Linked DNA regions of Homo sapiens: all the other regions are linked to region 2. Evidence: promoter capture Hi-C in 16 types of primary human blood cells and fetal thymus (Javierre and others, 2016). All regions are on one chromosome and are shown on one strand. The core of a region is centred on a gene start or on the middle of the fragment in contact, and the rest is flanking DNA. Distances in the headings are between cores, read along the strand shown. Region 1 overlaps ADRA2B (adrenoceptor alpha 2B). Region 2 holds the start of NCAPH (non-SMC condensin I complex subunit H). Region 3 has its middle 43 kb from the start of ARID5A.

Region 1 (2,700 bases), core at 6-2,505, 220 kb after region 2:
AGCAACCGCAGAGGTCCCAGGGCCAAGGGGGGGCCTGGGCAGGGTGAGTCCAAGCAGCCCCGACCCGACCATGGTGGGGCTTTGGCCTCAGCCAAACTGCCAGCCCTGGCCTCTGTGGCTTCTGCCAGAGAGGTCAACGGACACTCGAAGTCCACTGGGGAGAAGGAGGAGGGGGAGACCCCTGAAGATACTGGGACCCGGGCCTTGCCACCCAGTTGGGCTGCCCTTCCCAACTCAGGCCAGGGCCAGAAGGAGGGTGTTTGTGGGGCATCTCCAGAGGATGAAGCTGAAGAGGAGGAAGAGGAGGAGGAGGAGGAGGAAGAGTGTGAACCCCAGGCAGTGCCAGTGTCTCCGGCCTCAGCTTGCAGCCCCCCGCTGCAGCAGCCACAGGGCTCCCGGGTGCTGGCCACCCTACGTGGCCAGGTGCTCCTGGGCAGGGGCGTGGGTGCTATAGGTGGGCAGTGGTGGCGTCGACGGGCGCAGCTGACCCGGGAGAAGCGCTTCACCTTCGTGCTGGCTGTGGTCATTGGCGTTTTTGTGCTCTGCTGGTTCCCCTTCTTCTTCAGCTACAGCCTGGGAGCCATCTGCCCGAAGCACTGCAAGGTGCCCCATGGCCTCTTCCAGTTCTTCTTCTGGATCGGCTACTGCAACAGCTCACTGAACCCTGTTATCTACACCATCTTCAACCAGGACTTCCGCCGTGCCTTCCGGAGGATCCTGTGCCGCCCGTGGACCCAGACGGCCTGGTGAGCCCGCCTGCGCTGCCCCTGTGGGGTTGGTGCGGTGGCGCCGGGGTCACCCTGCTTCTTGCCCTGCTGTGTGTGGCTGCCTCCCCTGGGCTTTCTGCTCCCTGCCCAGATCCTGTAGGCCTCATCTTAGGAACCCCTTGGGAGGGGTGGGCAGGGGGGCTGCTAGCAAGGGTCCCAGTGAAGCTTCCCCTTGCCGGCTTAGCTGTGGGGGACCCCTTCTCCACCCTCTCCCTGAGCACAGGCCGATGGAGGTGGTTCAAATCCTCTGGAACATAGCCAAGACCAGGAGAAGAGAGAGCACTTTCTTCCCAGAGCCCCATGCTCTCCAGACCAATGTCTGGGCTTCCCTTTCTTGAGGACCTTGTGTTCCTGGCAGGTCACTTGCTTGTGGTGTTTTCGTTTCTTTTTCATCTCCCCCCCACCCACAAAGAGCACGGAGCCAGCCTTCCACTTTTCCCAGTGGGGCCTGCTGCTGAGGGGGAGGAAGAAACGAAGACTGATCACCCACGCTAGGCACTCGCGGTCCCTGGCAGGCGCTGGGATGGGGGCTTATGGGGTGGCATCGTCTCTGGGCCCTCCTTTCCCCCTTTGCCTGTTTTCGGATCTGTGGTTCCTTTGAAAGCCAGAACAATGGATCGGCTTCCTTACCCAGCACCCCTCCGGTAGGTGGGTGGCCACGTGGATGCCTCGCTGGGGCGGTCTTGGAGGCCTGGTCTCTGCCTCGACGGGAGATCCCCGATCACTGGCATTCACCCCCTGCAAAAATCGGGGCGACAATAGCTCACTGCCTACTTGCTGCAGGGAGATGAAAGGCTTTGCAGAAAGCTTTGAGCTCTGTGGGGGAACACACTAGAGAACCAAAAATGTGATTATATGGTGATATAAAAATCCCTTTCCTCTGTGTTTACCACCACCTGTCTTCCTGTAGACTTTTGTTCTGTCCCTGGGGTGTGTGAATTCCTACCCCGAACTGGAAGCCGGGAGTGGCAGACAGAATCACTATTTCAAGTTAAAGGATCTCTTTGAGAATGTGTTCTTCTGGCTGCAAAGGTCTGAGTTATTACGCTACATGACAACGTTTCGACATTTCACCGGCAACACCAAGAGGGTTTTTAGTGGCTTGGGTCTCCCCAGTGGGGGATAAGTCTTTTGTCATCAAGGAGGCAAATTGTCTCCCCAAGACAGCTCAAAATATCCACACCTCGGCAACAGTCTAAGATGAGAGCCTGTGACAGGTGGCAGCGCCCCCAGGTGGGGTACTGGCATCAGAGCCTGGTGCGCCCCTAGGGGAGCCTCCCACTGGAGTGCCCGGCCAGGTCTCCAAGCCCCAAATGAGTCCTTGTGAACCACAACTGATCCCCCCAGGTGGGTGCTTGTGGACTGCCTCGGACCCAGCCACGCTGCTCCCCGCAATGCTGATGGGGCTGTGCATTGAGGACCCCTGCTTCCTGGTTCTCAGTCCCACCCCAAAACCTGGCACCCAGAACAGTTGGAAGTGTGGAAAGGAGGTTTATCGGCCTTCCCTTGGAGAGGGCCTGGCTTCAACATTGGGCCAGTAGGCATCTTAGCTTGGCAGGTGTCGGGGGAATGGGCCAGATGGACCTGCTAGATTTGGAAGGGCACCGAGGGAGTTTTCTGGGTGTAGAGAGAATGGAGGGGACCAAAAAGAGTCCTTCCTGGGGTGTGGGAGGCTTCCCAGCTTGGTCCTCAGTGGGTTGTTGAGGCCAGAGTATCGCCCTGGGATGTGGTGGGGAGCTGGGCCAGGAGAGGGACTGACTGTGACCCTCTGCTGGCCGGTCTTGTGTGCGCCCCATGGGACCCCCAGTGTTCTTGCCTGTGACCTCTTATTGCGACATGCAGGTGGTGTTTTTTTTTTTTTTAAACTCTGAGCTATTTTATCAATAAAGGATATTTTGTAATAAGTAAGTGGTGTCCTTGTTGCCCAAAGGCT
Region 2 (2,974 bases), core at 378-2,877:
AGGAGGCAAGAGACATTTTTAGAAACTGAATCAAGAGGACTTATGAGGACAGTATTTGGATGTGAGCACAGTAGGCTACAGGCTAAGGAAGGAACCTGGACCTTTGGAGAGGATACCTTAACAGAAATAGGAAGCACTTAAGGAGAACCTTGTCTAAGAGAGAAACTAAACTTGGAATTAGAGGCATGCTTTAATTCTCCAAATCTTCTTTCCGTGGTTTCTCTCCTTGCCTTTGATATTATGCATCCATTCATTCAACCGATGGTTACTGAGCTCAAAGACACTTCCTATGTCTACTTCCTCATTTCCCACTCATTTTTCAACCCACTCTGGTCTGGTTCCTATTCCAACTTCATGAGAACTATCTTTTCGTGATCATCTATAACTTCCATGTTGCCTAAACCCTATGGTCATTTTCTGGCCTTTCTCTTGGAATCCAGCAGCATTTGAAACAGCTGACAGTCCCTTCCTTGTTGAAACACTCTTGGCTTCTTCCTATACCACTGTCTTTTGAGTTTTTCCAGCTCATCCTTCTCTATCCAGCTTCTAAACGTTGGTCCTAGATGTGCAGGGCCTTCCTAGTGTTCTCACCTGTTCCCATGGTTTTATGGTCTAATGGTCTATATGATAATGGTATCCAAATTTATTTCTCAATCCATGGGTCACTTCCCTGAGTGGTCCATATAACTCCCCTGAGAGCCAAATTCTCACCTAAGTGATTATAGATCCCTTCACCTGAGTCTCTCCCGTAAGTCACACATACCATGTCCAAAATGTAACTCAATTTCCAAATCTCTTACCCAAGGCCTCCAGACCCTGCCTACGTGTCAGGCCTCACTAAGCTTGGTCACAATGTTCTGGTCAGGTCCTAGGCCAGGCCAGGCTCTTCCCTGCCTCATTTTTGTACTTGCTCCTTCTGCCTGAAACACGTTCCCTAGTATCTGCCTAAAGATCTTCCCTGAACCCCTGGCGGAGCCACCCCTACTCTGCTATACTCAATCACAGCACTCAGCCTCATGTGTAATTATTTCTTTTGTTTACTGTCTGTCTCCCCAACTCCAACAGTATAGAGATATTATCAATTTTGTTCGCCCAACGGGAGAGCTCAGTACTTTTGAATAGATGCAAAAATAAATGCATGCATGCTAAGCATACAACGGTAACCACATCGCTTCCAAAGCCCTGAAAATAACGTCTATTCCAGGAAAACCACCATTTTAATGGAGAGACACCGAGCACGCTTTAGGAGCCCAAGGAGGAGGCCGCCCCACCGCCCGCCCGGGAACTGAGGAGTGTGAGGCAGGGCCCGCGCGCTCTCCGACTCCGGCCGAAGCCGCTTTCTGATTGGCTGAGCGCACAAGGTCCGCCCGCCCCGCGCCGGCCCTCCCCTCCCCCCGCACCGGCCTCTGCTGTCAGCCGCAGGGCCAAGACCCGAGCTGAGCATATCCTCTCTCCCCGCCCAGGCCAGCCCGCCAGCCCTGCCCGCCCGAAGTACTGCTTCGCTAGGGGCCCTTCCCGCCGCGCCTCCCGACCGCCCGGCTCACCTGGGCCGGGAGGTCCCATCTTTCCTTGGCGTCTCCTGAGCTGGTTTTAAATCGCGCGCGTCGAGACGCCTGAGCGCCGTAACGGCCGCGTGACGTCGCCGGCGGGCCGGGCCAGCAGCGCGCCTGCGCAGACCACCTCGGGCCTCCGCGGGCGGCGTCAGAGTGAGTTTTGGGTTGAGGACCCCGTCTGATTGGGCTTCTTGGGGTCGGTGGACCCCCTGAAATAGTATGAAAACCCCCTCCTTCGAGGACTAGGTGCAGGACTGGGCTTGGGAACCCAGCGTCGAGCAGGGTGAGCAAGGCCCGTCTTTCGTGGAATTTACTTTCTTTTTTTTTTTTTTTTGGGACGAAGTCTAGCTCTTGTCCCCCAGACTGGAGTGCAGTGGCGCGATCTTGGCTCACTGCAACCTCCGCCTCCTGGGTTAAAGCGATTCTCCTGCCTCAGCCTCCCGAGTAGCTGGGATTACAGGCGCCTGCCACCACGCCTGGCCAATTTTTGTGTTTTTAGTAGAGACGGGGTTTCACCATGTTGGCCAGGCTGGTCTCGAACTCCTGACCTCAGGTGATCCGCCCACCTCGGCCTCCCGAAGTGCTGGGATTACAGGCGTGAGCCACCGCGCTCAGCCCGTGGAATTTACTTTATAATGGGGAGGCAGATGATCGAGAAAACGAGGTTTATTTCCCTTAGAGATCTGTGCTGTGTGGGCAGCAAAACGCTGAAAACCTCCGGGAAGAGGGACGGAGGGGAGCGGGAGCCTACGTGGGAATGAGGAGCGGTCCAGGTGGGGAAGAACTGATGCAGAAATGCTATGTATACATTAAATATAGTACAAAATGTACATTTAATATAGTGTAAGATGAAGGCCATCGTTTTATTCAGATTCTTGTGAATAGCTTCCTGTGAACACCCCCCACCCTTCAAAAAATAAATAAAGGTCGAAAAAGCGAAATAAGCATAAAATGCCATCTGTCCCCTCAGTTTCATCTAACCCTAAGGATTGAATTATGGGAGTAAAGGCCAGGGTGATTCCCTGGAATATCCCCAGCACATCCTAGAATTTCTTGTAACTCTCATATCTGGCATCTTTTACAGTGTTTCTCTTCAAGGGCACTGTTGGCATTCAGGGTGAAACAATCCTTGGCATGATAGGATGTTTGCCCTCTTTGTGGGCTCTTAAGCCCCCGTAACATCATTTGCCCACTAAATGCCATCAGTGCTGTCGCTCATTTTGGCAATCAAAAAGTGCCACCCTTTGTTGAAAACCACTTTTTTTTTTTTTTTTTTTGAGACAGAGTCTTGCTTTGTTGCCCAGGCTGGAGTGCAATGGCACGATCTCAGCTCACTGCAACCTCCACCTCCCAAGTTCAAGCGATTCTCCTGCCTCAGCCTCCTGAATAGCTGGGATTACAGGCGCCCACCACCACACCCA
Region 3 (2,986 bases), core at 375-2,874, 240 kb before region 2:
TAAGAATGAATGCTAATATACCAGTAACCACCTTAAGAACAAAGATATAATCTAAACCTTTTTTTTTTTTTTTGAGATGGAGTCTTGCTCTGTCGCCCAGGCTGGAGTACAGTGGCATGATCTTGGCTCACTGCAACCTCCGCCTTCTGGGTTCAAGCGATTCTCCTGCCTCAGCCTCCTGAGTAGCAGGGATTACAGGCATGTGCCACCACGCCTGGCTAATTTTTGTATTTTTAGTAGAGATGGGGTTTCACCATGTTGGTCAGGCTGGTCTCGAGCTCCTTACCTTGTGATCTGCCTGCTTCGGCCTCCCGGAGTGCTGGGATTACAGGCGTGAGCCACCGTGCCCTGCCCCTTAGGTGATTCTTAAAGCGGGGAAACTAAAGCACTAGGCTTTGGGGCTCTCTTCTCAGGCATCCTCCTCAATTCCCAGAGGAGGGACCTGAGACTCAAAACAGAGAGTCTGCAGGGCTGCACAGCCGCTGGTTGAAGGCTGGGAAAGAGCCAGATGTTTTCTAGAAGGGCTCATTCTGTCTCACTGTCCTGGCCTAACAGGAGGTGGCAGCACTGGTTCTGAGTTCTTGCTACTGCTTCTCTGGATTGGCCTCACTCAGGGAGTGCAGTTATCTCATGGGCTGGAATCCTGGTTACTGGAATGCAGAGACAAAAGTCTTGTACCTCCTGTGGAGCCCACTGTAGGCATAGGAAACCTAACATTATTTGGCTCTATGATGTCTCTGTTTTGCAGGGATTCCACACATGACACTTTTTAAAATGCAAACTTTTATATTCAAATATAATGTATATGCATAAAAGTGCACCAATAGAAACTATACAGTATAATGAATTTTCACAAACAACACACACCTGTTTAACCAACATACAGGTAAGAAATAGAACATTACCACACTATCCTTCTGCTCCAGGACAACCTCTTTCCTGACTTCTACCACCATAGGTTGGTTTCGCCTATTTTTAAACTTAATAAAGGTGGAATTATGTATTTTTTGCATGTCTAGCTTCTTTCAACATTATGAAAGTATATAGATGTATTACATACAACATCTATTACATCCATGTTGTATGTAATAGTTCATTTGAGATGTTATATAACATTTATGAAATGTTATTTCATGTGATAGTTTGGGATTATTGCAAATAATACAACTATGTACATGCCTTTTGGTTAATACATGCACACATTTCTGTTGGAGGAATGGAGTTGTTGGGTTGCAGGATATGCTCATGTCAAGGAGCCTATGTTCCAGTAAAACGAGAATTGGAATTCCTCCTCTAGTGGCACTTCAGCTAAGGAGGAAGTTACTCTGGAAGCCATCAGCAGGCTGTAGGATAGGTTCTGTTCCTATTTAGGTGCCAAGAGCTACATATGCATATCAGTGTGCACATCTAAGTGAATTGACACACTTTCAAGTCTCTGCCACTCTGAGTGGACAGGTGTGTCTTTCAGAGTTTTATTAACAGATGCATTAGTTCACATCTTGGCAAGAAAAGATGGCAGACTCAAAGGGTATATTAGAATTGGTGAAGGGACAATTTAGACAGAGTGAAGGAAAACAACGGGGCTTTGAAGCTCCCAGGACACACACTCAACGCTTCAGCAAGGCCTCAGTGAGCTCATGAAGCAGGGAGGAGTGGGTAGGAGCAGCCTTCGCCACCAGGCGCCATCCCTGCAGCCTACATAAGCACACCTGTCCTCTCAGAGCCCCCTGGGCTCCCACAGGCCTTGCACCCATAGGCCTGAAGGAGCAGTGTTACTAGGTTCTGGGAGAGCTGTAGCCATGGAGAGGCTGCAGAGAGAGCTGGGTGAGTGGGAGGTTGGAAATAAATACTTCCATGTCTTCTCTTGCCTCTCATCACCTGCTGGAAGCCAGAGGATAATGCAGTTCTTATAGGTCAGCCTCCTGGGGTAGTTTCCTAGGGCGCAAAGCAGGGATGTGAGGGAGAAGGATGGATCTGGAGGGGCAACCAGAATATCTGACCTGATAGATGTATTTTTCAGCTGGAAAAGGCATACATATTGAGAGTAGAAATGTTGGCCAGTATAGAAAAGCATAAAGAAGAAAAAAAAGAATATCTATAATCTCATCAACCAGAAGCATTGTCTGTTTACATTTTAGTGTGTTTGTTTCTAGTCCTTTTCCATACATATTTTTCAGTAGTTGGAATCACACCATGCATGTAGTTTTTTATTAGTTTTTGTAATGAGTTGGCACCAGAATTCCTCTTGGGGAAGAGAGCTTTTGGTTTGGGGAAGGTTCCTTGAGAAACTGGAATAGATGAGATGGCTCTGACTGTAAGGTATTAGTAGCTCAAGCAAAGGATGGTTAATATCTCTGTAGGAGAGAGTGGATTTTTTTATATTTACTGGTGCTTTTGAAGAGAAGGTGGCTAGGGAAGCATCCTGATGGCAGGGTGGCCAAGGGGCAGGTTAAGAATGGCCTACAAAACTGATGACTTATTCTCCCATTCTTCATACCACTAGAATTACAGTGTTGTGGAAGACTTGGGGGAGATCCCTTTCTCAGGGAGGGATGGGCATGTAGCCCAGTCCTGGCTAGTGAATTTTAAGGGGACTGTGCCAGAGGCTACTGGGAAGGGTTTCCTCCTGATAAAAAGGGAGGGGCACGTGAGGAGAAATTCTCTGCCCTGCATTGACCTTTGTTTCCTGCCCCAACTTGCAACTTGAAGAGAAAGGCCAAGGATTAAGAATTAGGACTCATTAGGCCGGGCACGGTGGCTCACACCTGTAATCCCAGCACTTTGGGAGGCCGAGGCAGGCAGATCATGAGGTCATGAGATCGAGACCATCCTGGCTAACACGGTGAAATCTCGTCGGTACTAAAAATAGAAAAAAATTAGCCGGGCGTGGTGGCGGGTCCCTGTAGTCCCAGTTACTCAGGAGGCTGAGGCAGGAGAATAGCTTGAACCCAGGTGGTGGAGCTTGCAGTGAGCCGAGATCACGCCA

What was found. Contacts are between HindIII fragments. The CHiCAGO score rates a contact against its expected background, and 5 or more counts as called.
Region 1: a fragment that was not itself captured here is called in contact with the fragment with the promoter of NCAPH in region 2 in 6 of 17 cell types (M1 macrophages, M0 macrophages, total B cells and 3 more); the score reaches 7.9 in M1 macrophages.
Region 3: a fragment that was not itself captured here is called in contact with the fragment with the promoter of NCAPH in region 2 in 1 of 17 cell types (naive CD8 T cells); the score reaches 5.4 in naive CD8 T cells.

What each region holds. Positions count from the first base shown.
Region 1 is chr2:96,112,847-96,115,546 of GRCh38, reverse strand. ADRA2B (adrenoceptor alpha 2B) reads left to right here. Exons shown (of 1, transcript NM_000682.7): 1 at 1-2,671. The coding sequence ends at 750. Among named protein-coding and RNA genes, the nearest start is that of ADRA2B, 2.4 kb to the left of the region's middle. The HindIII fragment of the contact is 642 bases long and covers 935-1,576 here.
Region 2 is chr2:96,334,419-96,337,392 of GRCh38, reverse strand. It overlaps NCAPH (non-SMC condensin I complex subunit H), which reads right to left and starts at 1,627. Exons shown (of 18, transcript NM_015341.5): 1 at 1,545-1,627. The coding sequence starts at 1,563. RefSeq lists enhancers at 471-1,312, 1,313-2,154 and a silencer at 1,233-1,552. The HindIII fragment of the contact is 5,174 bases long and covers 845-2,974 here.
Region 3 is chr2:96,578,511-96,581,496 of GRCh38, reverse strand. It overlaps a transcript of KANSL3 not described here. Among named protein-coding and RNA genes, the nearest start is that of ARID5A, 43 kb to the right of the region's middle. The HindIII fragment of the contact is 3,284 bases long and covers 1-2,986 here.